2 separate regions of the Homo sapiens genome follow, and region 2 is linked to region 1. The links are contacts of gene promoters, found by promoter capture Hi-C in blood cells and fetal thymus (Javierre and others, 2016). All regions are on one chromosome and are shown on one strand. The core of a region is centred on a gene start or on the middle of the fragment in contact, and the rest is flanking DNA. Distances in the headings are between cores, read along the strand shown.

What was found. The method cuts DNA at HindIII sites, captures the fragments that hold promoters and counts their contacts. A CHiCAGO score of 5 or more calls a contact.
Region 2: the fragment with the promoter of HEY2 here is called in contact with the fragment with the promoter of STXBP5 in region 1 in 1 of 17 cell types (total B cells); the score reaches 6.4 in total B cells.

What each region holds. Positions count from the first base shown.
Region 1 is chr6:147,201,638-147,207,673 of GRCh38, forward strand. It overlaps STXBP5 (syntaxin binding protein 5), which reads left to right and starts at 2,780. Exons shown (of 28, transcript NM_001127715.4): 1 at 2,780-3,045; 2 at 4,334-4,431. The coding sequence starts at 2,896. It overlaps STXBP5-AS1 (STXBP5 antisense RNA 1), which reads right to left and starts at 2,977. Exons shown (of 11, transcript NR_034115.1): 1 at 2,776-2,977. It overlaps LOC124901422 (a long non-coding RNA gene), which reads right to left and starts at 1,934. Exons shown (of 2, transcript XR_007059803.1): 1 at 1,179-1,934; 2 at 239-656. RefSeq lists silencers at 1,963-2,382, 2,413-2,462, 2,483-2,562, 2,733-2,922. The HindIII fragment of the contact is 4,433 bases long and covers 1-3,351 here.
Region 2 is chr6:125,746,371-125,752,317 of GRCh38, forward strand. HEY2 (hes related family bHLH transcription factor with YRPW motif 2) reads left to right here and starts at 3,262. Exons shown (of 5, transcript NM_012259.3): 1 at 3,262-3,489; 2 at 5,431-5,509; 3 at 5,637-5,720. The coding sequence starts at 3,407. It overlaps HEY2-AS1 (HEY2 antisense RNA 1), which reads right to left and starts at 3,055. Exons shown (of 5, transcript NR_183491.1): 1 at 2,589-3,055. RefSeq lists silencers at 1,417-1,596, 2,771-3,480. The HindIII fragment of the contact is 5,509 bases long and covers 1-4,728 here.

The sequences.
Region 1 (6,036 bases), core at 1,530-4,029:
CTTTTCCCCCTCCAGTTCATGCTCATAAATTTCTAAGAAGGTGGTATTAATCTCATTTTAAACCTGAGGAATCTGATCCCTAGAAAAATTTAAAATTTGCCCAAGATTACACATATTACCATGGCCTGGACTGAAGTTCATGGCTGGCTGACAACAAAGCCTATATTTTCCCACTACACCACAAAGCCTCTCAACAAGAAGTTGTCTTTTTTTTCTAGAAAGTTTTATAATCCAATGATGAAAAATTATCCAATAGATTTATTTTAGACCTAGGTAAGTAAAAAGGCAGATCATACAATTCTATGGGGTTGTGATCTGTCTGTTTTGCAATTTCCCCCTGTGGAATCACATGTACTTTTAAAAAGCTCTCAAGGTAATTCTGAGGCTCTCTTCCCCATTGTCTTCCAATGGTCTTTGCCTCCTGTTCGCTAGGTCTGCTCCTCCTTATCCGGCATGATCTATGGTGGGCGTCACCATGTCCAAGCCTTCCTGGCCAGTTAAGTGGCCCTCTGCCGTCCTCCTTCATTATTCCATCATTGGACTCATCACATCGTTTTACAATTACTATTTATGTTAAAAGTCGTCTCCGTTAGACCGTAGTGAGCTTGCTGAAAGCAAGGATTGCATTTTCGTGTCTTTAGTACCTAGCACACCGCCTGACAACAAAATGTTAGAGAACTAAATTAATAAAAAATTCAGAGCCACTTGGAAATAGTTTAGGAATGTCCTCACATTTGTTTTCTTGGTCGTTGCACCCAGCGAATCAACTAATTCAATAAATATTAAACGACAAATCAAAATTTTGTAGGTTCCAAATGCAAGACATCGTCCTGGGATGCGGAAGCTGCAGAGTGGACTACATTTCCCGAAATCCCTGGGCCCAGTCGTAGTTGGTTCGCTGACTGCTTTTGAATGCTGGTTAACTCAACCAATAGGGTGACGAGAATTTCCCTAAAGGAGAGGGAGCCGACCTCACAAAGAAGAGGGCGGGTGCTTCTGACAGGTTTGGAACTTAAAAAAACCCTTTGTGGCGGTTCCGTGGCTTTTCCGCAGACCAGAGCGCGCGAGGAGTCATTCGCTAGGAACCTGTCCCCCTCTCCCCGAATTAGGATTAGTCTTCCTGCACTTCCTTCCTTCCTTACGTCTTTCCTATTTCCACATCCTTCCTAATCAAGTACCTGTGCTTCCGTCCACCTGTCCTGTTGAACGCACTCTCCGGGGGGTTTCCCCGGCACAATCTCTTGTCTGTCTTTTCCAACTTGAGCCAGGCATTTGTCTCCAAGCATTCACGCGAGATGGGCAGTGCGGCCTCGGAAAGATCTGAGCAAAAACTTCATCCTATCCCCCTTTCCCCGTTCTAGAGTGAAGCTCCCAGGGCATTACTGAGTGGCTCATCAGCGTCAGGGCAGATTGAAGGTTCTGAAAAATAGTGGCAGCGCGGCGTTTCCTGCCACCCGCGCTCCTCCCCGGCGAGGGGCTGGGTGCGGGGTAGTGTCATCGGCCCGGGCTGACACCGGCCCTGGAACCGTTCCCCGCTGGCAGCCTCTTCCATCCCAGCAGCTAACTGCTAAGACCAGACACGTTCCACCAACAGTAACAGCTGTAGGAAAGAACCCGTTTTTTCCCGTCTAGGTTTCTCTCCTTTTCCTAGTACCTAAGTCCATCATCCTCCTGCCACTGACATATCGTTGTCTAGACGCTCTTTTTCAAAACTCAAATCCAATCAAACAAAAACAACGCCCGTCAATAAAGCAAGAAAAATAATACTGCAGCCAGCGGCCAGGAGCGTGCACCCCATTAACGGCGAGAAAGCATCAACCCCTGCTGTAATGACTGAATTGGAAAGAAAGGTTTCCTGCTGCTTGTTAGTCGTCAACATTTTTACTATGCCAGCTGCAAGAGAAGCAGCTGCATACTCTGGCAACTCGACTGGGGTGGGAGAAATTTAGCCAGCGTCTGGGATTTTCGCAGAAGATAATTTAAGCCCCAGCTTCGCTCGGGCTGGGGGGCTGGGGGCCTGCTGGGCCAGGGTGGGGGAACCGGGCTGCGGCGCGCATGCGCAGGTACCGCAGCCCGGCTCCTGGGAGGCCCTGCTGCCGCCACCGCCGCGGCCCGCGCTGTAACCGCGGCTGCCGCTGCTGCTCCGGGCGGGCGTTGGTGCCGTGTGCCGAGGCGCCCTGTCAGGCGATGGGGAGCGGCTGGGCGGGGAGAGCCGACGGCCGCGGCGGCGCCTGAGGAACGCAGCCGGGCTCGGGAGCGGCGAGGGCGGGCCGGTCCAGCGGCGGAGGAGCGAGGCGGGGCGAGGCAGGCGGCGCGGGGACCCACACCAGGCGCCTTGTGTGCGAGGCCGAGCGGCGGCCGCGGACAGAGAGCCGGCGACCCCCGGCAGGAGGAGAAGGAGCCGGAGGACGCGCCGAGGGACTGCGGGGCCGGGGCGGGCGAGCAGCGGCGCGGCCGCGGGCCATGGACGCAGCGGCGACGGTGGCGGCGCCGGGGGCGAGCCGGGGCGGCGGCGCGGCGCAGAGTCCGCCCGCGGCCAGGTGAGGCTGGGCTGAGCGGGCTCGGGCGCCGCCGCCACTGCTGCTGCTGCTGCTGCCGGGCCGCGGAGCGAGGCGGCGGCGGCGGCGGCTGAATCGGCACCACAGCAGCCGCGCCAAGCAGCGGCGGCCTCGGAGGAAGAGGGGTCGCCGCCCAGGTTTCTTGCGGCCGCCGCTCTTGTCGTCGCAGTATTTCCTGTTCGGATTATCTTTTGCTTCCCCCCAGCTGCCTCCTTACCCTCACACTCCCACTCCTCCGTTTCCGCGGTCGAAGCTGCCTTCGGCCCCGGGTGGTCTCCCCCGCCCGGGGACCCCCTGTGCCTCCCCTCCCGGGCTGCGGGGGAGCCCCTCCGAGACCATGAGGAAATTCAACATCAGGAAGGTGCTGGACGGCCTGACCGCCGGCTCGTCCTCGGCGTCGCAGCAGCAACAGCAGCAGCATCCGCCTGGGAACCGGGAGCCGGAGATCCAGGAAACGCTCCAGTCCGAGCACTTTCAGCTCTGCAAGGTGAACGGAGCGCGCAGCCCCGCGACACCGTCATTGAAAAATTGGGGTTGTTTTAAGGGGGCTACTCGGGCTTTACATGGGAATGCAAGGGAAGAGAACGCCAATAATAATAATAATAACTCTAATAAAAGGCTCGCTCCTCCCTTGGCAAACGTTTCTTCGGTGGGTTGTTTTGGAGATTGATACCTTACTCCTTTTCATTGATTTTTCTCTCTCCCCTTTGCACATGCAGCAATCAGTTCAAGGTTGCTTCAAACTATTATCCGACCTTTAATCGTATTCTGACACTGCCAGTAATAACCTGGAAGCTTTTATATTCAAGCGTTTTAATATGATTCACCAACTTCGAAGTTTCCTTTGGAAACGGTGTCTAATGAATGTTGTTTATCAAAAAGCCAAACCTGTTCTACCACACCTTTGCTCATCACTTTTCCCTTAAAATGTGGTGTAAGTGGCTTACGATATGAAATCACAGGGTTCTTTTTATCATTATGTTTGTTAAAAAGTACTGAGATTTTTGCCTGTTAATGGCACGATAATTGCCATAGCGTTCTGTAATTCAGAAAGAATGATGCAGCGAATTAAGTCACCAGCTGCTTAATGAGAAACACAAACTTGCCTCGGTTTTAATACCTGCCTTTCTCATAAATAGCCATGTATTTGTATGTCAGAGTTAATTAAAAGTGTGCATATATATATATATATATATATATATAGGTCTAATGCCCTAAAATGATTATGGCCTTAATAGTAAATTGCAAAAATGTATGTTGTACTCATCTTCATTCTGTTACAAGTGTAAAATGTTGGGATAGAGGTTTGATTATTGCTCTACTGAATGCTTGACTAAAGTAATTATATGACAGCTTTTCCTTAGAAGTACTTGCGTTAGCATCCAAATAAAGTAATGATGAAATGAATACTGCCAAAATAAAGTATGAATTGCATTTAATGGGTTTACAGAATTTTGGACCATTGCAAACTTTAGTCATCTGGTGTCGGATGTAGTAGTATAGAATATTAATAAAAGATTTTCTTCTATGGAATACCAGTATTATGGAAAAGCGAAATTAAAGTATATCACTGGACTAGATTTTTGTTTGTTTCAGGTTCTATGTGAATAACTTTGTTAATGTAGGTTTCACTTATTTTTTCAAAAGCAGTAAGTGCATGTGTATGTGTTTTGCATCAGTGGTAGTGGTTCTAAATTCTAACGCCTCTATTGACTTTCTATTTTAAAATTTCGCTTGCTGCCTTGGTTGCTGTGATGTCACTTGCCCATCCCTAGACTGTTCGCCATGGATTTCCCTATCAACCCTCAGCCCTGGCCTTTGATCCTGTACAGAAGATCCTGGCAGTGGGAACTCAGACTGGTGCTTTAAGGCTGTATCCTTTCTTTAATTTTATTTTTTAACTTCTACTTTGTTCTCCCCAGTCCTTCTGTGTTGCTGATTAGTTCCAAAGAAAGTTTTTATTTTCCTGTTGGTGTGATTAGATATATACTATGAGAAATCATGTGTTGGCTTTTCCCTTGATTATAATTCAGCTTATATACTGCTGTGATGTTTCTCAGCTCCTAGTTTATAGTAGCTAAACATATATCCAAATAGAGGTCTAAAGTTTTTTTATGATAACTATTTTATTTGTAAGGAGATAGAAGTTTCTAAGGAAAAATATATCTGCTTCTATACTATTGGTGTGATGAATGAGGTATGTTAAGGATGAGGTTTAAAGACAATTACTTTTAAAAATATTATGCATGGTAGATATTGAACTTATGACCTATTCTAATAAATTAGAGATTGGATTTCAATCTGAATTTGGTTGTTTTTGGCATGTCCGTGTAGAAAAACAATTAGCAGAAGTGTAGCAAATTAATTTTCTATGAATAGTTATAAATGGTTAATATTTCTACCAGTTTTTAGAGCGTTTTCTTGAAAAATGCATGGGGATAAATTTTTTCTCTTGATATACTTTTTCTCTCATAGTCTACATTTGTTATGTATTTGTAAAAACTGTTAGGTTACTATACATTAAACTAGTAGTATAGAATTACTTTTCCTGGTTGTGTATGAACTATATTAGTTTTATCAAGCATTTTTTTAAATACTTCAAAAGATTTTTTTCAAGATAATTTTTTAGTGAGAACAGTACAGACGACTCACTTTCTATTTTTATGTTGAAATGTGTTTTCTTTTACTGTGACTTTGAAACATACTTAACCTAAATATATTCTTAAACTTAAGATTTGGATTCATCTATCTGTGGGATATCTACCTCCTGCATATTAATGAGTAATGTGTTGGTGATAAATAGAAAAAAAAAATCACTAGATGATTTCAGTAGACATTACTATTGTCAAAAAAAAGAAAAGAAATATACGATAGGGGAGGAGCTTTACCCCTTTATATTTTAGATTTTTCTGGTTCCTGAGAAGGAGTGAGGGAACCTGCATTTGAGTTAAACATGTGCCAGGCATTTTACTTACATTTTAAAGTCATTATTTCAAAGAAGTACTATGTGATACATACAAATATATATATATGTATAGATAGATAGATAGATAATGCCTCAAGTTTTATTTGTCACTTAATGTGCTATCTTCAAAATGCTAATAGAAGTTTTAGGATGGACTATTGAACTGTGTTACTAAGTGAAGTCTACTATACATAGTAAATACTACGCAGTCATACCTTTATAAACGACAAAATCTGACCAGGCTAGATCTGAATCTGTTAATTTCTGAGACGGTGTGTCTGAAGTGCTCTTGCCCAAATATCTAGATAGTTATGACCAGAATGTTTTTTGGCTTCAATTGTTAGATATTTTTATTCCTGAACTCAGTGATCAAGACCATCTAGTTTAGGGTTGTGTGAAGACGGGAATGAAGTTATTTTGTCAGTGTGGGCCCTGAGTGTTCAGCAAAACTCTGTAGTGACGAGACTAGTACAGCGTTGGATCTAGATGCATTCTTTGGAACTGAAAGCAGTT
Region 2 (5,947 bases), core at 2,012-4,511, about 21 Mb before region 1:
AGGCATAAAAAAAATCCAGGTTCGTTCCAAAAAAGTTTTACAATTATAGCAAAGCAATCATTTCATCGGTTTGTGCAACAAAATTCAAAATCTGCGGGGCGAGATAATACTTGGCCAACATCGCCAAATTTATCAATACGGGTGTAAAAACTGTAACTTTTTATTAAATGGGTGTGAAAAGAGTCGGGGAGGAGGAACAGGACCACTAAATCTGGTATTTCCAGATCTCTGCATTCAACATCTCACTCCCACGCCATTAAGTTAAATAACATTTAGCACAAAACACAGGCTAGACCACCAATTTCGGGAGGGCGTCTGAGTCTTCCCTTCTCCATTCCCTTTAGATCGGCCGTCCTGGCCTTTCTTTCCTAACGGCATCTCCTTTCTAATAAAGTCCCTCGTATCTTTTGGTGTAATTAACTCATGGTACAAATCCTTCAAAAAGAAAGGAAAGAACTGCGGTTTGCTCTACGCGCGGACATCTTTTCTTCCTAAGCCTTCCCTTTCGCTGAAAAGGTTGTCGCAGAAGGGCGGGGAGGCTTGAAATCCCGCCGTTCCCTCATTCTTTCTCTTTTCTTTCTCTCCACATAACGCCTCCCCTACACCTCCCCACCTCCAATCCACTACCGTATTTAAGTCGGCGGGGGCGCTTTAAAGGGTTTCCTGTGTCTGTTTCTGTCTCTCTGACCCGAAACGCACTTTCGGTTATAGACAGACAAGGCGCTCAACCAAGGGACAGGCAAATGGAATAAACAGCTGAGGAGAATAAACGACCTAATGGGGAAATCTCGTGCTGCCTAATTGCTATTGTGTTTTGCAGATAAATAAGCATATTATTTTGATAGCGTTCAAAACCCTGAGCTCTCTTGCCCTATGCATTCTTAACAGACTTCTATGGCGCTTACTATATACCAGGCGCTGTTTTAAATGCTTTTAAAATACCACCTTCTTTGCTTAAAAAATATTTTTAACAGATTTAAAATTCCGTGTGTGCTTTCGAACTTCCCTGCTATACTCTTCTTTATACATAGTACAGCAGTTGTCTTCAAAGACAAATTGAAAAAAAACTTTAACCAGTTGCTACTTAATTGCCAGCAAATCGTTTCCCTCTGCAATTTTTCGCAATCATAATTAAATACACTAGTATAGTGGCAAAGAACTGTTAGATTTTTTTTTTTCAGTGATGATCTCAGGTTTTGCCTCAGGCGTTTGGACGCGCCCGCTAATTGCCCGTGTGGCAAACATGAGTTGCACCTGCAGGCATTTGAATTCAGAAAAACGTGCAGCCCTCACGGAAAGTTGTGACGGTCGAGCTTGAGCCTGGCGGGCCGCGGAGCGTTCACCTGCGGCCGGGAGGTACTGGCCCAGGGCGCTCGGGGCGGGAGGTGGCAGGCGACCGGCGCGCGTCAGGCTCGTCACCCGCTGGATTGCGGGGCCGGAGCGGGGACGGGGTCTGGGTCCTGGCCCGCCCTCGTGCAGCCGATCGGAGGCCCCGAACCCCGCGCCGACCCAGCCATCCGCCCTGAGGCCGACAGGGGAGCTGGGGTTCACCGACCCCCGCGGCCCCGCCGTCGGGCGCGGACCCCATCCAGCCCCACCTGGCCCCGCCGAGTGTGTGCTTTGCCTGGGGTTAAGTTTCAGAAGCCAAGATGGAACGATTCGGGTTTCTATTCACAAGGTTATTGAAGGCATGGCGGTGGGGACCGCGCAAAAGAGATGAGAGTGTGGGGGGAAAGGGGTTTCTGTTCTAATAAGGGCTTAGCACGCTGGCCGCAGGTCCTCCGCGCCGACCGGGCTCCTTCCCGCTCTCCCCCGGGCCAAACCCCGCCAGGGTCCCGTCTTTCCCAGTCGCGTCCTTTCCTCTTCTCCCCGCCCCGCGCCGGGCTTGTGTGGACAGAGAACGGAGTGTCAAAGGGACGCCCTGGGCCGATCCCCAGGAAGCTATGAATCCCTCCGTGACGGAGGGGTCTGGGGATCGATAGACGGCCCTTTCTCAGAGGCTCTCTCCACTACTGACCAAGCGGCCCTGCCAACGTGTGGTTTCCGGCTGGACCCCAACCCAGCCGCCGCCAGTCTCCCGGCGCCCCTGGCTGGGTCTCGCTCAGTCCCTGCCCTCGCAGACGCACAGCGGGGTGGCCAGTTCAAAAGTCCTACATAACTTGGAGAGAACCAGCAGCTAGAAAACCTGTTTTAAACACACAGCTTGAGTTTTATACAACCCACGTTGTCCAAGGCACGAACTGTTGGACACGAATTCATACTTTAGAAACCAAATCTAATTTCCAAGCGCCAATCTTCACCTCCCGGACTCTAACTCTGCGGCTGCGAGTGCATACACCAGGGGGACTGGAGGAGACTGGAGGCAATTATCTGGATAATCCAAGCCCGAAAAACTCGAACTTGAAAATATACGATTATGTCCTGAAATGCCCGCGTCATTGATCTAGTCTTTCCTACCATCAGAGCTGACACAGCTCCAGTCCACGGGCTTCTCCGCGGGGTCTAGGATCCACAGTCCCTGGGGGCTGAAGACCCAATGGAAGTAACTGATGGATCGCAAATTGGAAATCGTAACGTGGCCGACAGACCTGATCAGGAAAACTCGCGTCCTTATATGAAACAGCCCCGAGGCCGCGAAAGTAGCCTCAGGAGTTGTCAGATTCAAAAGCAATTTTGATTTAAGGTTTTCAAAAGCCCCAGAGGGCAAATGTGACCACTCGGGTCAGCCAGTCAGCAGTTTGGATCCAGACAGGGGACCACCGAGTGGGGCGGCCGAGGAGCCGCGGCGCCTCCCGACGTCACACGCGCCTGCTCGCACTTAGCCACGCGCTTGGGGTTATTCTTTACACTCAGGACTGAAACTTCGCCCGCGAGACCGCGGGGCGCGGAGGAGGGCCGAAACCCAAGGTCCAGGTCCAGGGCCCGCCCCCGCGCGCCCGCGTTGGCGCCCGCGCGCTCCCTCCGCAGGGGTTAGCAAGATTGCGCTCATTCTCGCCCCGGCTGCTCCCCACCCGCTCGCTGCTCTGGGGTACCAGGTCCGCGGCCGCGTTCCCACGCCTCGGCTGGAGCCTTGCGGCGGGCATTGGCGAGCGCGGCCCCGCCCCCTGGCCCAGCCAATCGCGAGCCACGCCGACCAGCGAGGGGGAGGTGCCGGGCGGAAGGCCTGGGCCGGTGCGCGGGGGCGGGTGAGGTGGCCCCACCCGCTCGAGGGGGGGGCGTGGCCGGCGCCGGCTCTTGCGGCCGAGCAGAGTTGCGGCGTGGGAAAGAGCCGCTAGGAGCAGACCGCGCCGCCGCCGGAGCCGCGCCTGCCCAGGCCCGGGGAGGGAGGAGGCGGGCGTCAGGGTGCTGCGCCCCGCTCGGCGTCCGAGCTTCCGGCCGGGCTGTGCCCCGCGCGGTCTTCGCCGGGATGAAGCGCCCCTGCGAGGAGACGACCTCCGAGAGCGACATGGACGAGACCATCGACGTGGGGAGCGAGAACAATTACTCGGGGTGAGCGCGGGCTCCGCGGGAGCGGCCCGCAGCTCGGGAGCTTGGGGTAGCTTTGTGAATGCGTGGCTCCCTGGAAATCCCGAGGCTGGTCTCCGCAGCATCTAGGTAGAGAGGGAAAGTTTGGCCTGAGAAAGTTTGAGTGGTGGGCGCTCGCAGAGCGTGAGTTGGGATGGGGCAAGGGATGTGGATTTTCACCGTAGGGGTGGAGTAGCCAGGATGGGAGACGCCACTGAAAGGCAGAGCGCAGGAGTTGGCGAGGGAGGGTCCTGGCTGTCACAGTTGGACGCGCGAACGGCAGCGTCTGGGCGACAGGCGATGTCCCAGCCACTGAAACCGTATTTGGGGGCACTTTCAAAATAGATCAGGAGAAAATAAAAACAATTTGATTTTTGATTTTTAGAGATACCAAAATCACAACTTGATTTTTGGAGGAATTAAAGCAACCTGCGATGTCAAGGCTACGTAGGTTGAACTTTGCAGGTTGACCGTGTGTGACTTGGCTAACGCAAGAGTGAGTGACAGATGTAAGCATCGGAAAGGGCATCATTTCTTTGACTGCTTGTTCTCAAGTCTGGAAGAGATCGGCGTCGTAATCACAGAAGCCAGACCTCCACTTTCCTGTGACAGAGGGAGATTACCGAGGCATTTTAGAGCCAAGGCGGGTCAAATGATAATTGCTTCTAATTGGCATCCCCAGAAGCACCTTAATTATTTATCTGCAGCTGTCACTCAAAGAGGGAAATTCTTCCTACCTTTGGAAAACTGGTTTTCTTTCATATTGTTATTCTAATACATACAAAGCAAAGCACAAAATCTGCAAGAGCAAAGATATTTACACGAAAGCAAAGGTTTAAGTATCTGATCATTAAAGTGTTGTTGTGCCGTCTTTAAAAATGAGGTCTGAAAAACAGAAGCTATCACGTGAAAGGTGAAACCCGTAAAGAAGGGGTGAAAATGAGGGGGACAGGTAATTCAGAAATAAGATCCAGAAGTGAGAAGGTGAGGTAATAGCAACCTGGTGTGTGCAGCATTTCTAAAATGAAAGAGAACAAATAACAGGAACCTGGGGAATTTGAGAACACAAAGAAGCATAGTATCCATGAATTATGAAGAGAAACAGATACAAACTAGAAAGGATTGTAAAAATTATGTGACCAAATAATACTTTGATTGAACCTTCAATATAAAAATATATTTTCATTAGTAAATCCAAGGTGCATTGCAGCTTCTGGAGATTTAAGCTTAGCCTAAAGTCTGAGACACACCTACAGTTTCATTTTCAAAGTAAAACATTCACCTAGTAATAAAATGAGTTTTAATTTTCCTATCAGTGGCATATTTAGGGCATATTTTTGGAAGATTAGTATGCAAAACATCAAGTTTGTCAATTTTTTCCTGTTGCAATATATGACTAACTGAAGTTTTGAAACAGTAAGATAACTTCTATTTATTTTAAAGTTTGCACCTAGAGACAAGAGTTTGACGTATGACGACTGCACATCTGTTTGATAGTGGTGCTTAACATAACCCTGATTTGAAAAAGTGGCATTATTTTGTTCAGTGTGCCTGACAGGAGGGAGAAGGAAAGCTATTTGAGATTAGTTGACTTTAAAATATATGAGTGGAACTAGGAAATGCTAATATCTAACTTCTCAGCCCAACTGCCGGTAATTATTTCACTGGGAGACTTTCAAGTAAAAATTGTGGGACATTTTGGCCAATGGGTTAGCATCTGGATTACAAATTAAGGCGTAATTTTTACCTGAAAAGAGACAGCCGGGCTGAAAGCAAAGTCCGTTAAGAGTGAAACAAGAACTAAGAATAAAATAACACAGACTTGAACTGTGCAATCACTCTGAATATTTAATGGGTGCCACAAGTACCCAGAAGAAACTATTGTTATGTTAATGCAGCACCTGACATACTCTTCTTATTTCATAGGCAAAGTACTAGCTCTGTGATTAGATTGAATTCTCCAACAACAACATCTCAGATTATGGCAAGAAAGAAAAGGAGAGGGGTATGTGATTTTTCCCCCTTTTTATTTCATGTAACTTATACTATTGTGTAACAGTTACATTTTTTCATTTGAGTAATTTTATCATTTGTGAATTCATAAACTTTTGTTGTTTGCTTCTTTTGGATAGATTATAGAGAAAAGGCGTCGGGATCGGATAAATAACAGTTTATCTGAGTTGAGAAGACTTGTGCCAACTGCTTTTGAAAAACAAGTAAGCTATCCCCTCCCCAGAATCCCCCCACCCACCCCGCCACCCCCCAAAAAAAAGCTCAAACACAATCTGATTCGCTCATCTGGGAATGTGGGTTCTTGTTAAAGCTCATTAAAATAATAGTGTATGTGCCCTGATCTGGCACAGAGCAGCTATTTCAATAAAATGCTTTGTTGTGGCAAAACTATTAAAAACATAATCCATCATGAAGTTGAAAAACATTTCCA